2 separate regions of the Homo sapiens genome follow, and region 2 is linked to region 1. The links are contacts of gene promoters, found by promoter capture Hi-C in blood cells and fetal thymus (Javierre and others, 2016). All regions are on one chromosome and are shown on one strand. Each heading gives the region's core, a stretch centred on a gene start or on the middle of the fragment in contact. The rest is flanking DNA. Distances are from core to core; before and after follow the strand shown. Region 1 holds the start of CRAT (carnitine O-acetyltransferase). Region 2 has its middle 55 kb from the start of LINC00963.

The links. Contacts are between HindIII fragments. The CHiCAGO score rates a contact against its expected background, and 5 or more counts as called.
Region 2: a fragment that was not itself captured here is called in contact with the fragment with the promoter of CRAT in region 1 in 2 of 17 cell types (endothelial precursors and monocytes); the score reaches 5.8 in endothelial precursors.

The regions. Positions count from the first base shown.
Region 1 is chr9:129,107,999-129,114,838 of GRCh38, reverse strand. It overlaps CRAT (carnitine O-acetyltransferase), which reads left to right and starts at 4,046. Exons shown (of 14, transcript NM_000755.5): 1 at 4,046-4,356; 2 at 6,762-6,840. The coding sequence starts at 4,330. It overlaps PTPA (protein phosphatase 2 phosphatase activator), which reads right to left and starts at 3,424. Exons shown (of 10, transcript NM_178000.3): 1 at 3,208-3,424. The coding sequence starts at 3,238. RefSeq lists silencers at 3,111-3,160, 3,851-4,290 and enhancers at 2,688-3,228, 3,161-3,440. The HindIII fragment of the contact is 8,818 bases long and covers 1-6,840 here.
Region 2 is chr9:129,540,005-129,546,970 of GRCh38, reverse strand. No RefSeq gene overlaps it. Among named protein-coding and RNA genes, the nearest start is that of LINC00963, 55 kb to the right of the region's middle. The HindIII fragment of the contact is 1,575 bases long and covers 1,751-3,325 here.

The DNA of each region.
Region 1 (6,840 bases), core at 2,797-5,296:
AAACAAGCCTTCAAAGGCAGGATGGTGATAAATGAGGTCACGCCCACAGTCTCTCCAGCCTCAGGTTATAGAGACATAGGTTCCAAGGGACAGTGGATTCCCAACAACCTCACAGTATAAAATCAACATTCAGAATTTTAGAAATGTTCCTTCCTAAGCCCCCCAACAAAGACTATAATATATAGCATTATCATTGGCCATTTGAAACTCGTCTACATGTTCAACCTGTACAACTTTGAAACTTTGAAAAAGATAAGGGCAATCAGCATTTACTGATCGCCTACTATGTCCCATGCTTTGCACACATCTTATAAAACACATACTACAATTCTATGAAGAAAGTATAGTAGCCTATAGTTATTTTAAGAAATAACTGAGGCTTTTTCTCAGGGAAAAAAAAAGAAATTTTAAAAAAGAGAGAAGTAACTGAGGCTCACAGAGCTGTGACTTGCCAGGCAGAGCCAGATATGTATGACTCCAAAATCCAAAGTTTTCATCATTACATTAAGAACTTCTCGCCGGGCGCGGTGGCTCACGCCTGTAATCCCAGCACTCTGGGTGGCCAAGGCGGGTGAATTACTTGAGGCCAGGAGTTCGAGACCAGCCTGGCCCACACGGCGAAATCCCATCTCTACTAAAAATACAAAAAATTAGCCCGGCACAGTGGTGGGCGCCTCAGCAACTCGGGAGGCTGAGGCACGAGAATCGCATGAACTCAGGAGGCGGAGGTTGCAGTGAGCTGAGATTGCACCACTGCACCCTGGCCTGGGAGACAAAGTGAAACTCTGTCTCAAAAAAAAACTAAAAAGAAGAAGTTCTTTCCAGCTGTTCCCAAAAGTTCTGTTTCAAATTTCAAAAAAGGACCACAACCAGGGACCTGGCTGTTTCCAGCCACGGATAACCTCCCTGAGCACAGCTCTCTTTCAGGGCACAGGTTCTCTCTCCTCCCACTCCCCACCCCCACTCATCTTCAGGGACACATTCATCTCACTGATAACAGTGGTTGCCTTATATCTCCTATCTCCTGATGTCCTTACCAGAACTTTTTCTTTTTTGAGATGGAGTCTAGCTCTCTCGCCCAGGCTGGGGTGCAGTGGCTGGAGTGCAGTGGAGCAATCTCGGCTCACTGCAACCTCCGCCTCCTGGGTTCAAGTGATTCTCCTGCCTCAGCCTCCCGAGTAGCTGCGATTACAGACGTGTGCCACCACACCCAGCTAATTTTTGTATTTTGAATACAGACGGGGTTTTGCCATGTTGGCCATGGCTGGTCTCGAACTCCTGACCTCAAGTGATCCGCCTGTGTCGGCCTCCCAAAGTGCTGGGATTACAGGTGTGAGCCACTGTGCCCGGAGTCATCACCAGAACTTCTAAGGCTAGCTTGTTCAACCCACAGCCCAGGACAGCTTTGAATGTAGCCGGACACAAATTTGTAAACTTTCTTAAAACATAGGCCAGGCACGGTGGCTCATGCCTGTAATCCCAGCACTTTGGAAGGCCGAGGCAGGAGGATCACGAGGTCAGGAGTTCGAGACCAGCCTGGCCAATATGGTGAAACCCTGTCCCTATTAAAAATACAAAAATTAGCCAGGCATGGTGGCGCACCTGTAGTCCCAGCTACTCAGGAGGCTGAGGCAGGAGAATCGCTTGAACCCGGGAGGCAGAGGGTGCAGTCAGCCGAGACCATGCCACTGCACTTCAGCCTGGGGGACAGAGTGAGACACTGTCTCAAAAAAAAGAAACACAAAACCATTATGAGATTTTTTTTTTTGCGACTTTTTTTTTAGCTCATCAGCCATCGTTAGTGTTAGTGTATTTTATGTGTGACCCAAGACAATTCTGCTTCCAATGTGGCTTAGAGAAGCCAAAAGAGTGGACACCCCGGTTTTTTTTTTGGGGGGTGACGGAGTTTCACTCTTGTTGTCCAGGCTGGAGTGCAATGCCGCGATCTCAGCTCACCGCAACCTCTGCTTCCCAGGTTCAAGCGATTCTCCTGCCTCATCCTCCCTAGTAGTTGGGATTACGGGCGTGTGTCACCACGCCCGGCTAATTTTGTATTTTTAGAAGAGACGGAGTTTCTCCATGTTGGTCAGGCTGGTCTCGAACTCCCGACCTCAGGTGATCAGCCCGCCTCGGCCTCCCAAAGTGCTGGGATTACGGGCATGAGCCACCGCGCCTGGCCTGGACATCCTTGTTCTAAGGGCACACACCCAGAGGTTTTGTACAAAATAAATGTCTGGTTTTGAATGTCCTAAGAAACGGAACCCAGCTCTTTGTTCACCTCTTTTGTGGGGCATGGAGGGGATGCCTTTTCTGATTTTCAACATTTCTCCCTCCTGAGACCTTCCCAGGGACCCCAACATTGGAGACAGGATAGCAAGAATATCAAATGCTTTCAAAACATTAGCTGTGTTTGGTCGGCCAACCTATTTGCCTCTGTCGGGAATGTAAAAGTTATCTATGGCCAGTCCTTCTTAGTTCAAGGTAGGTCGGCAAACAGCCTTCTCCTTCTGCACAAAAAGGGTCTCTAAGATCCTTCCGTAGCACCTCCATCCCAGTTATTTAAGATGAACTAAAAAGAGGCTACAAGGTAAATAAGAGTTACCGAAGGAGATGCCGGAGAGACTAACCTCCTTGCACAACCAGCCTTTTAAAATTAGGGATTTAGACACCACGGGCAGTTTCCCTCAATAAATTCTCAGGCACTGGAACCAGAGAGTAGGAGGATGAGGGGTGAGCAGGACGCGGAGGCCGAAACTGGAGGCGAGGCGGGCGCAGGCCCACGGAGCACCACCCCATCCCCTAAGCAGCGACTAATAAAGACGGCAGCCTCCGGAATCACTTTCGCCCCCCTCCCTGGCAGCTTCCCCACCGAGTCAGCAGCTTACTTAAGCACGCGCTGCCCAGAGATGCAAAAGGCCCCCTTATGACCACGGCGCTGCCCACCCAGCATTCGGGCAGCCTGGACTCCCACAAAACCCAGAGTTGCGCCCCAATCACCACCCCTTTGCAGCCCCTGGTTCCCTCCCCAGCGGCGCCCCACCACCCACCTCTCCCCTAAGGCCATTCAACTCAGTCCCTCCTCGGGGCCCCTCAGCTTTTGCCCCTCCAGTTCCTCCGTGTCATGACTCTCGCCCTCCTGAGCCTCCCACACCTGGCACCGCCCCCACCCTACCCGACCCCGGCCCGGCCTGGCCCCGCCGGCCTTACCTGGCGGCGGCTGCCGCTCGCCCTCAGCCATCTTGCTCCGGCCAGGAGCCGACCCGGATGCTTGCAGTCCCCTCTCGCCTTTCACTCTTGCACCCACCCTTCCTCTCCCCGGCTCCACCAAAGGCTCCGAGCTTCCTGAAGACAAGTGAGCGCCGGCCGGCTATAACCGAAAACCGAGAGTTAAAGTCACCACAGCGAAGACGGCCGCCATGTCGGTGCGGGGCGCTCAGGGAGCAAGCCTATTAACGGCCGGCGCGCGGCGGACGCGCGGAACCGGGCGACGGCCATGTCAGTGCGGGGCGCGCGGGGCGCATGCGCGCCAACGGCCGCCAAGCGCTAGGACCGCTCACGGCCGCCCGAACGTCGGGCGCCGCGACTGCCACGATTGTGCGGGGCGTCAAGTTTGGGTTGTGCTCAGCCATGTTTTTCCGGGACAGTCTCCTGTCCCGGAGTACCACCTGTCATCTTTGTGGGTGGTACTGACCCTAACCCAAGGAATATTAGAGGACATTCCCCGGTCAACATGGTTGTGTTTTCCTATCACTCTAAGAGTTAGGCTCAAGGACACCAGACGGAGTTGGAAAGGTGCACACCACTACCTCCAACAGCTTAGAAGACATGTGGGGACAGGGGAGAGACAGCTGGACGGTGACCTCCTCCTTCCTCCTCCACAGGTCTCAATGACTCGCCCTCGGCCCTGCCCCTCTGTCCCCGCCCGCCGTGGTCCCGCCCCCGACTCGCAGCCAGCCTACTGCGACCCGCTACCGGGCGACGCCCCGCCCCTCCGTCCCCGCCCCTCCTGTCCCTCCTCAAGGAGACTCCGCCCCATCGATGCCCCGTCCCCGCCCCACAGCCAACCTCCCGGGCACCGTTGCCCGCCCGGGGCCCGCTACCGGCCCAGGCCCCGCCTCGCGAGTCCTCCTCCCCGGGTGCCTTCCCGCAGCCCGCTCGGCCCAGAGGGTGGGCGCGGGGCTGCCTCTACCGGCTGGCGGCTGTAACTCAGCGACCTTGGCCCGAAGGCTCTAGCAAGGACCCACCGACCCCAGCCGCGGCGGCGGCGGCGCGGACTTTGCCCGGTGTGTGGGGCGGAGCGGACTGCGTGTCCGCGGACGGGCAGCGAAGATGTTAGCCTTCGCTGCCAGGACCGTGGTGAGTGCGGCGGATCCCGGGCCTGAGGGCCCTGGACGGCCTGGGCGGGCCGTGCGGTTGCGTCCGGGAACGGAGACCGCGTCCTGCGGCCGCTGTTCGACCCGGCCTCCAGCTGATGGGGTGGGGTCAGGCGGGCGTCCCAGGTTTGGCAGAGCAGGAGATTGGGGCGCAAGGTCAGAAGCGGGATTAAACCCACGTCCTGGAGCATTCAGTTCCAACGACCCAGGAAAGACAAGGGGGACCCCGGCTTCAGTTAGCACCCCCACCCTTAGACCCAGAGACAGGCCGGTAGGGGAGAGAGACCAGGAGCATCCAGACCCTAGCTCACTCTCCCAGTTATTCTCCGATTGACACACCCGTCGCACGCTTAGGCCAGAGCCACTCCTCCGACCCTGTCCAGTTGGTCACACTCCTTTGGTTTATCAGACGGTCCCTGGGGAATTGTGTGTGGCCAGAGAAACACGCGGAGGCATCAAGCTAGAAAGGCCTCAGAACTGGCAGGTGGCAGCCCCATGGTCTCCCTCCCCTCCAGCCCCCTTCCCCACCCTGGCTGTATCCTTCCCTCCAGCCCCCTTCCCCACCCTGGCTATATCCTCCCCTCTAGCCCCCTTCCCCACCCTGGCTATATCTACCCCTCAGTCCTCCCCGGTGAGCAGCCCGGATGCTAGCCTAATTTCAGTCCCTTCCGTCCCTGATCCAAGCATATGTTGCTGGTGTCTCACTCTGTCTCAGACACACACTACGGGGCCAGAGGGCGGAGGGTGCATCCAGGCTCAGGCCTAGAGGCTCTTTTAGGTGTTGCAACACCCTGAGCCTCCACCGCACCCTTGTCACTGTCTCCCAAGCTGCATCCATCCCACAAACAGCCTCTAGATCATCCTCCAGGACCATCCGACTGGACTGGTTACCTTCCTGCAGGGAAACTGAGGCAAGGAGGGACTTGCCCAGAGTCCCCTGGACCTGCTCATTCAAATCCAGCCCAATCCCAGTGTCCTTTGGTTTATTTTTCATACCAAAAGTCCTCCGCTCTTGGACCCTAGCTGAATGAGCCACAGCTCAGGAAAAAATGAGTGTTCGTAGAGGGATGGCTCAGATGGGTCCCAGGAGTCCTGGAGAGAAACAGGAAATAGGCAGGGCTTCTGGCTGTCCCATCCACTGATGGCCTTTTCCTGGTGTCTGCTCCCTTGCACCAACCCTAATTTCAGGACCGATCCCAGGGCTGTGGTGTAACCTCAGCGGCCAGGCAGTCTCTGTCCTCCAGCCAAGTTTTCCCTCATCAAAACGATCTTCGCAGATTCTGACAGGTGGATTTTTTATTACCTTTTGTCCTGACTCCCTGGCACTGAGCCCATGCAGAGAAGAAAGGAAAGAACTTTCCAGGTTCCCTTCTACTGGAATGCCCCCCCACTAGCCCTCTCACCTGCTCCCCATTCCTCTACTTCTGGGAGCTCGGGAGGGTGGAGCAGCTTCTAGAGTCCAGGAGCTTCCCCTGCCACTGCCACAACCCCCGATTCCACCACAGCCATCGCCACTGCCACCTGCCTCCCGCTGAATCTTGGCTCTTGTCTTCTCTTTCCAGCCCAGGCAAGTGGCTGCCTCTGGCTAGGTTCTGCTCACTCACTTTGTAGCACAGTTAGGCTTAGAGATCCAGCCAAGGCAGACAGACAGGGCCCAGAACCTCAGTCCTGCCATGGAGGAGGACGGGCAGCAGAGAGAGAAGGTATGGAACAGAGCTCCTGCCACTCGCCTGCCCACTGCAAGAGCAGCCTCGGGCCCTCCTGTCTCTGCCCACTCCAGGGCCTCCTGGACTTTCTCTTTCTCTCTCTGCCGCCTCTCACCCTCCATGCCAGGCCACCCGGCTCTCTCGCCACAGCACTGCCCTCACCCCACCCCTGCCCCATCTCAAAGGCAGGAGGAAGCCCAAGGCCCCTCACCCGAAGGTGCTGCCATTGTCTGGCTCTCTGTGATTCTCTCTTCTTCCCTTCTGTTTCTCAACCTGGAAAGGGTGGGAGAAAAGGACGTGGGGACCTCCAAGAGGGACAGTCACCACTCTGCTGGCTGGCTCCTCTTCCAGGGTGAGAAAGGAGGGGCCTGTGCAACCCAACAGGTGGGCGGTCCCCCTCACCTCTGCCACCCCAAAGGTGCCGTTCATCCTGACTTGGTTCCCCTGAGCCTTGCTAAGAACCATGGCCACACCCCACCCTCCCCCATCCCTACCTGCATCTCCAGGCCCCAGAGAGGCGGGGACACCTAGAGCTCTAGGGCTGGGAGGCCAGGGCCAGCCCCACCCAAGAGGCCGTCTCTGCCCCCAGGGATGGGCACTTAAGTGCCCAGGACTACAGCTTTGGGGCTGCCAGGGCTCCAGAGCCGGGGAGGGAATGAACAGGATGTTCTGCTACCTGCAGGTGAAGCCTCTGGGCTTCCTGAAGCCCTTCTCCTTGATGAAGGCTTCCAGCCGCTTCAAGGCACACCAGGATGCACTGC
Region 2 (6,966 bases), core at 1,289-3,788, 430 kb before region 1:
GAAGTTTCTTGGTTTTGCATCTGCAGAATAGGGGTGCTGCCCTCCACATCCTTCAGTCTAGGGTGCTAGGAGCCCAGCAGTCTGTGATCCTGCTATGGAGAGGCTGGGAGCCCAGCGCTCTGATAAGTTGAGGCTAACATTTCATGTATTCATCCTTCTGAGAGATGAGGCCCCTTATTGGTGCCAGGCCAGCCCTACACTAGGGGCTGGGGTGCAGCCATGAATGAAGGAGACCCACACCTGCCCCCGTGGAGTCCCAGGTGAGAAGGTCTAGTTCTCAGCCTGAGAGTCAAATGTTGTGAGTCTACAAGAGCCTTATTCCCACCACATGGCTCTGTCAGACCCGTGATGTTTCTGGAAGCAGGAAGGAGGAAAGAAGGAGTGGAGAAAGGTGGGGTCACACAAGGGCACTAATTTTAATGTTCACTTTCAGTGAATGTAATCTTCTGGGATCTAGCACACCTACAATTTTGAGTGCCTTAAAATGCCACTGCTAATAGACTCATAGCACTTGTGTCTTTCAGGGGACCGTTCTCTGAAGCATCACAAATGCTCTGTGAACATTCATTAATTAGGACCCAATTAAATAGTTATCATTGGCTGAAAATATATTTATTGCAACGCGTTTGACCAGCTACTGGTTTCCCGGCTGGGCCTCCACATGTGTAGTTGTGCTTGAATGATGGTGGCCTGACAGGAGGGGTTAGAACATCGGGTTATCCTCTGACAATGCCTGCAGGGCTGCTGGGGAGTCTGTCCGCTCAAGGGCATTGATTCTAAGGACTTTCAATGGACCCTCAGTTCTTACCCAGTCTCTGTCTTGGTGCCTTCTTCCATGCTGGGAGCTTACTACAAGGGACTGTGTATGCCAGAGTCTTCCAGAAGAAAAATTCAAGGTTGAGCAATAACCTGGTTGCTCACGCCTGAAGTCCTTCCCTTTCCTTTTTTTTTTTTTTGAGATGGAGTCTCGCTCTCTCACCCAGGCTGGAGTGCAGTGGCACAATCTCGGCTCACTGCAACCTCTGCCTCCCAGGTTCAAGCGATTCTCCTGCCTCAGTCTCCCGAATAGCTGGAACTACGGGCACACACCACCACACCCAGCTAAATTTTGTATTTTTAGTAGAGACGGGGTTTCACCATATTGGTCAGGCTGGTCTTGAACTCCTGACCTCAAGTGAGCCACCCGCCTCAGCCTCCCAAAGTGCTGGGATTACAGGCGTGAGCCACCATGCCCAGCCCTGAAGTCCCTTTTAACTCTGTCATTCGGTAGCCCCCGAAGTCTCTTACCCAGTGGTCTAGAGCTCCTCCCGTTCTCTGCCTTCTACTAGAGGAAATTTCCCTCTAGAGGAAGTGCTGCTTGGCCAGGCTCTGTGTTGGCATTGGGGTGGAGGATGAAGGAGATACGTCATATACTGAACTCTTAAGGCCCAGCCCTGTGTCAGACCGGGGCTGAACACCTTGCACTGAATCCGCTTAAGAGCTCTGAGAAGTAGAGAATGGGTTCCAGTACAACAGGGAGGCAAACTTGAGTTACCTGAAATTCCTCACCAAGATTTCCCCAGGGGACTGGGGAGGATGGGGGCTGCGTGGCTGGCATGGAGATCTAGGATTCTCTGGCCCTCCAAGAGCAGAACAGCAGGTGGGACCAGAAGCCCCCCACCCAAGACTGGGCTGATGTGGCACAAAGGAAGGAAGCACGTAGGATCAGCTGCTAGGGAGGTGTTTCAGAAGCAGACAGAGAAGGAAAGCTTGTTTTTAGCAGTGGCCACCAATGTGGAATTTTGAAGGTATTTGTGTAAAGGGGAACCCTGGGACCATGTGAGACACTGTGCCACTCCATCATTTTTTGAAAATGACTGGGACATTTAGTACCCTGCTTGTATTCAGGTTACATACGATGACAGACACCAAGCCGAATGTGCCTAAGGAAAAGGAGAACTTAGGAGTCCACGTGAAACAAAACAGGGATAAGGACAGGAATGGAGCAGCCCTGAGTAAGGATGAGATCATGAGACTCAAATACTTCCAGACCCCTAGCTGTTCCTGTCTTCCTTCTGCCTCTGAGAAACATCTCGGTCTCATTTCTGTCCACCGCATATGGGGTTTCTCTGGGGAGGTGGAGAGTAGGAGGGGTGATTTTTTATTTTTTTAAGTTTTATTTATTTATTTTTGAGACGGTGTCTCTGTTGCTCAGGCTGGAGTGCAGTGGCATGATCTCGGCTCACTGCAACCTCTGCCTCCCAGGTTCAAGCAATTCTCCTGCCTCAGCCTCCCGAGTAGCTGGGATTACAGGTGCGTGCCACCACACCTGGCTCATTTTTTTTTGGTTTTTTTGTTTTTTTTTTGAGATGGAGTCTTGCTCTGTTGCCCAGGCTGGAGTGCAGTGGTACCATCTCAGCTCACTGCAATCTCTGCCTCCCGGGTTCAAGCGATTCTCCTGCCTCAGCCTCCTGAGTAGCTGGGATTACAGGTGCGCACCACCACGCCTGGCTAATTTTTGTATTTTTAGTAGAGACAGTGTTTCATCCTGTTGGTCAGGCTGGTCTTGAACTCCTGACCTTGTGATCTGCCCACCTTGGCCTCCCAAAGTGCTGGGATTACAGGCATGAGCCATCGCGCCCGGCCAAAGCGTGATTTTTTAAAATGCTGATTTCTTTTCTTTAATGGCCATTGATTTATTTAGGGTTTCTCTTGTTTTTGTGTGTGTGTGTGTGTGTGTGTGTGTGTTTTGAGGCTGAGTCTCACTTTGTCGCCCAGGCTGGAGTGCAGTGGTGCGATCTCAGCTCACTGCAAGCTCCGCCTCCCGGGTTCACGCCATTCTCCTGCCTCAGCCTCCCGAGTAGCTGGGACTACAGGCGCCCGCCACCACGCCCGGCTAATTTTTTGTTTGTATTTTTAGTAGAGATGGGCTTTCACTGTGCTAGCCAGGATGGTCTTGATCTCCTGACCTCGTGATCCACCCGCCTCGGCCTCCCAAAGTGTTGGGATTACAGGCGTGAGCCACCGCACCCGACAGGGTTTCTCTTGTTTTTGAATAAACTTTGATCATTTATGCTTTCCTGTAAATTCTCTATTTCATTTATGATTCTTAAAACTTCCAGTCTATCTGTAGTTTCATACTTTTTAAAATTCCTAATGTTAGATATTTGTGCCTTTACTCTTCTTTTCCTTGATTAATCTTGCTAGATGTTCTTCTATTTTGTCATTTCAAAGAAACAGCTTTGGGCTTTATTGAATATTCTGTAATTGTTGATTTCCTTTTCATTGATGCTCTTATCTTTATTGTTTATTCCCTTCCACTGTTGTTTTTTGTTTGTTTGAAGCTTCTTTAGTTAGTTGAAAGCTTTACACATGTATGTTTTAGTCATTCTTGTTTTAAAGTAAATGCACTTAAGATTATATATTTCTCCATAAATGTCCTTTTAGTTGCATTCTGCAAATTTTGTTTTGTATTGAGCAAATATTTCATATTGAGCAAATATTTCATAATTCCCATTGGGATTTCTGTTGTCTTTGAGTGGGCTCAGTGAATAACTTCCCTTTTCCTTCCTGGATTCTGAACTAACTGAGAGATAAGGCAAGAGTCAGCAGAGGAGGGAAAATTTTTTTTTTTTTTTTTGCGGTTAAAACTTTTTTTTTTTTTTTTTTTGTAGAGATGGGGGTCTTGCTTTGTTGCCCAGGTTGATCTCAAACTCCTGGCTTCAAGGGGTCCTCCTGCCTTGGCCTCCCAGAGTGCTGGGATTACAGATGTGAGCCACCGCACCCGGCCTTAAAAAATCATTTTTAAAAAAACTGATAGAAATAAGATTGGAGGATGAGGGTAGGTAAAACAGCCAAATGGGTTTCTGAAAAGGGGGATTTGGCCACCTTAACCCCTGGTCACTGTGATGCTGGCGGTGGCAGGTGCAGGAGCAGAGAATGACCACTGCCTGTGGGCGGCTCACTCACTCCCAGGAAGAGAAAGGGAGTGGGTGAGTCAAGTGGGCCCATTTTACGGTTCCCACATTCACCAGTCAGGTAAGTCACTCTTTCTCCAGGCCTGAGGGTGGAAAGGAGAAGGGAGAGGCTGGGTGTGTCATGCAGATTTAGCTCCCACTGCATGGAAGGAAGCATCAAGATTAGGAAATAACGTTCCTGCAACAATTTCCTCTTGAACCTATGAAATAGAAATGTGCTTCTTAGTTTTCAAAGACAGGATTGTTGGCTGGGTGTGGTGGTGCATGCCTGTGATCCCAGCACTTTAGGAGGCTGAGAGGTAAGGATTGCTTGAGCCCAGGAGTTCCAGACCAGCCTGGGCAACAACGCAAAACCCCATCTCTATAAAAAATCTAAAAATTAGCCAGATGTGGTGGCACACACCTGTAGTCCCAGCTACTTGAGAGGCTGAGGTGGGAGGATTGCTTGAGTCTGAGAGGTTGAGAGGCTGCACTGAGCCATGATCATGCCACTGCACTCCTTGCCTAGGCTACAAAGCAAGACCCTGTCTCAAAAAACAAAAAAAGAAGATATAGTTGTTATTTTAAGCTGCCTTTAAAAAATATATATATATATATGGGTCTATTTCTAGATTCCTTGCTCCATTGATCTTTTGGTTTGTCCTAAGGCCAACATCCCATTGTCCTGATTACTGTAGCATTATAGTAAGTCTGGAAATATCATAAACCTTGAAAAATAACCCTGGTTACTTTTGTCTGAAATGTGAACTCCACCTTTTTAACAGTTAGATAGTGTATAAATTTACTGCCCGTCTTCTGAATGTGATTTGACATATCTTAGTGTATCAATTTAATTCTTTTGTGTGTGTGTGTGCCAGAGTTTCACTCTTGTTGCCCAGGCTGGAGTGCAGTGGCACAATCTCGGCTCACTGCAACTTCTGCCTCCCGGGTTCAAGTGATTCTCCTGCCTCAGCCTCCCAAGTAGCTGGGACTACAGGCACCTGCCACCACGCCCGGCTAATTTTTTGTATTTTTAGTAGAGACCGGGTTTCACTATGTTGGCCAGGCTGGTCTCGAACTCCTGACCTTGTGATCCACCTGCCTCGGCCTCCCAAAGTACTGGAATTACAGGCATGAGCCACCGCGTCCGGCTCTCAATCTAATTCTTAACATTGTCATTTGCATGATCTTCCATCTTTGTGAAAGTCTTAGTCTTTTCTTATTATATTTTAGATGGAACTTCTTGATTTTAGATGGAAATTTCACTCTTTTGCAGACACTTGACACTGAATGAGTGTCATTTTGCAAACTGTACAAATGATCATTCAATACATATCCCTGCTCCAGGCTTTCTTGCCTAGATACATTTCCTTCTTGATTTAATTATATTATTTCATGTCAAAAATTTCATTAGGATTATATAGTTTTTACAGACAATGGTTGTGGCAGAGTTGCTGGTTGTCCCCCAATATCCACTCTTCCTGTCTTGCAAAGTAATAAAATTTTTTATCTGGACATGTGGTAGACCCGATAAGAACTATATTTCCCAGCCTCCTTTGGAGCTAGCTATGGATTATGGGATGTAAGAGGAGTGATACAGTGTGTGTGACTTACAGATCCTACTCTTGAAAGGAAACAGCACACCCTGCCCTTTCTGTTGATGGGAAGGAGGGTGCAGTGGTGAGCCATCTTGAACTAGGGGGTTCAGAGCAATATTACAGGGATCAAGAAGCAAGAAAACATAAGGGGCAGGGCGTGGTGGCTCACGCCTATAATCCCAGCACTTTGGGAGGATGAGGCGGTTGGATCACTTGAGGTCAGGAGTTCGAGACCAGCCTGGCCAACATGGTGAAACCCCATCTCTACTAAAAACACAAAAATTAGCTGGGGGTGGTGATGTGCACCTGTAATCTCAGCTACTTGAGAGGCTGAGGCAGGAGAATCACCTGAACCCAGAGGCGGAGGTTGCAGTGAGCTGAGATTGCACCACTGCATTCCAGCCTGGGCAACAAGAACAAAGATCTGTCTCAAAGAAAAGCCCCGAGCTGGGCGTGGTGGCTCACACCTGTAATCCCAGCACTTTGGGAGGCCGAGGCAGGTCGATCACGAGGTCAGGAATTTGAGACCAGCCTGGCCAACATGGTGAAACCCCGTTCCTACTAAAAATACAAAAATCAGCTGGCATACTGGCGGGCACCTGTAATCCCAGATACTTAGGAGGCTGAAGCAGGACAATCACTTGAACCCGGGAGGTGGAGGTTGCAGTGAGCTGAGATCATGCCACTGCACTCTAGCCTGGGCAACAAGAGCGAGACTCTGTCTCAAAAAAAAAAAAGAAAAAAGGAAAGAAAGAAAGAAAACATAAGGAACCTGAGTCTCCAATAACTCGGAGCTGCCGTATGACTATTTATGCCCAGACTGTTACTTAGGGAGAAAGAAAATTCTATCTTTGTGAGCTGCTAGTATTTTGGATCTCTGTCAGAGCAGCTGAACTTCTATCCTAGGATAATAGCTAGATTTACCAATATCATTTATTAAATTATTTGTTCACTACCGCTCCTTGATACTCCTTCCCTTTTAATTTATGTTTCTTTTTGGCAGAGAATCTCTTTTAAGAGTTTTTGCAGCAAAAGTTTGGGGGTGAAAAATCTTGGGATTTGTAGGTTTGAAAATGCTTTCCTCTCCAAGTGGATAGTGTTGAAATGAAGAAGAAGAAAACATTGGGCCAGGTGCGGTGGCTCATGCCTGTAATCCCAGCACTTTGGGAGGCTGAGGTGGGCAGATCACGAGGTCAGGAGTTTGAGACCAACCTGACCAACATGGTGAAACCCCATCTCTACTGAAAATACAAAAATTAGCCAGGTGTGGTGGTGGGTGCCTGTAATCCCAGCTACTCAGGAGGCTGAGGCAGGAGAATCGCTTGAACCCGGGAGGCGGAGTTTGCAGTGAGCCAAGATGGTGCCACTTCACTCCAGCCTGGGCAACAAAGTGAGACTCCATCTCAAAAAAAAAAAAAGAGAAAAGAAAAAGA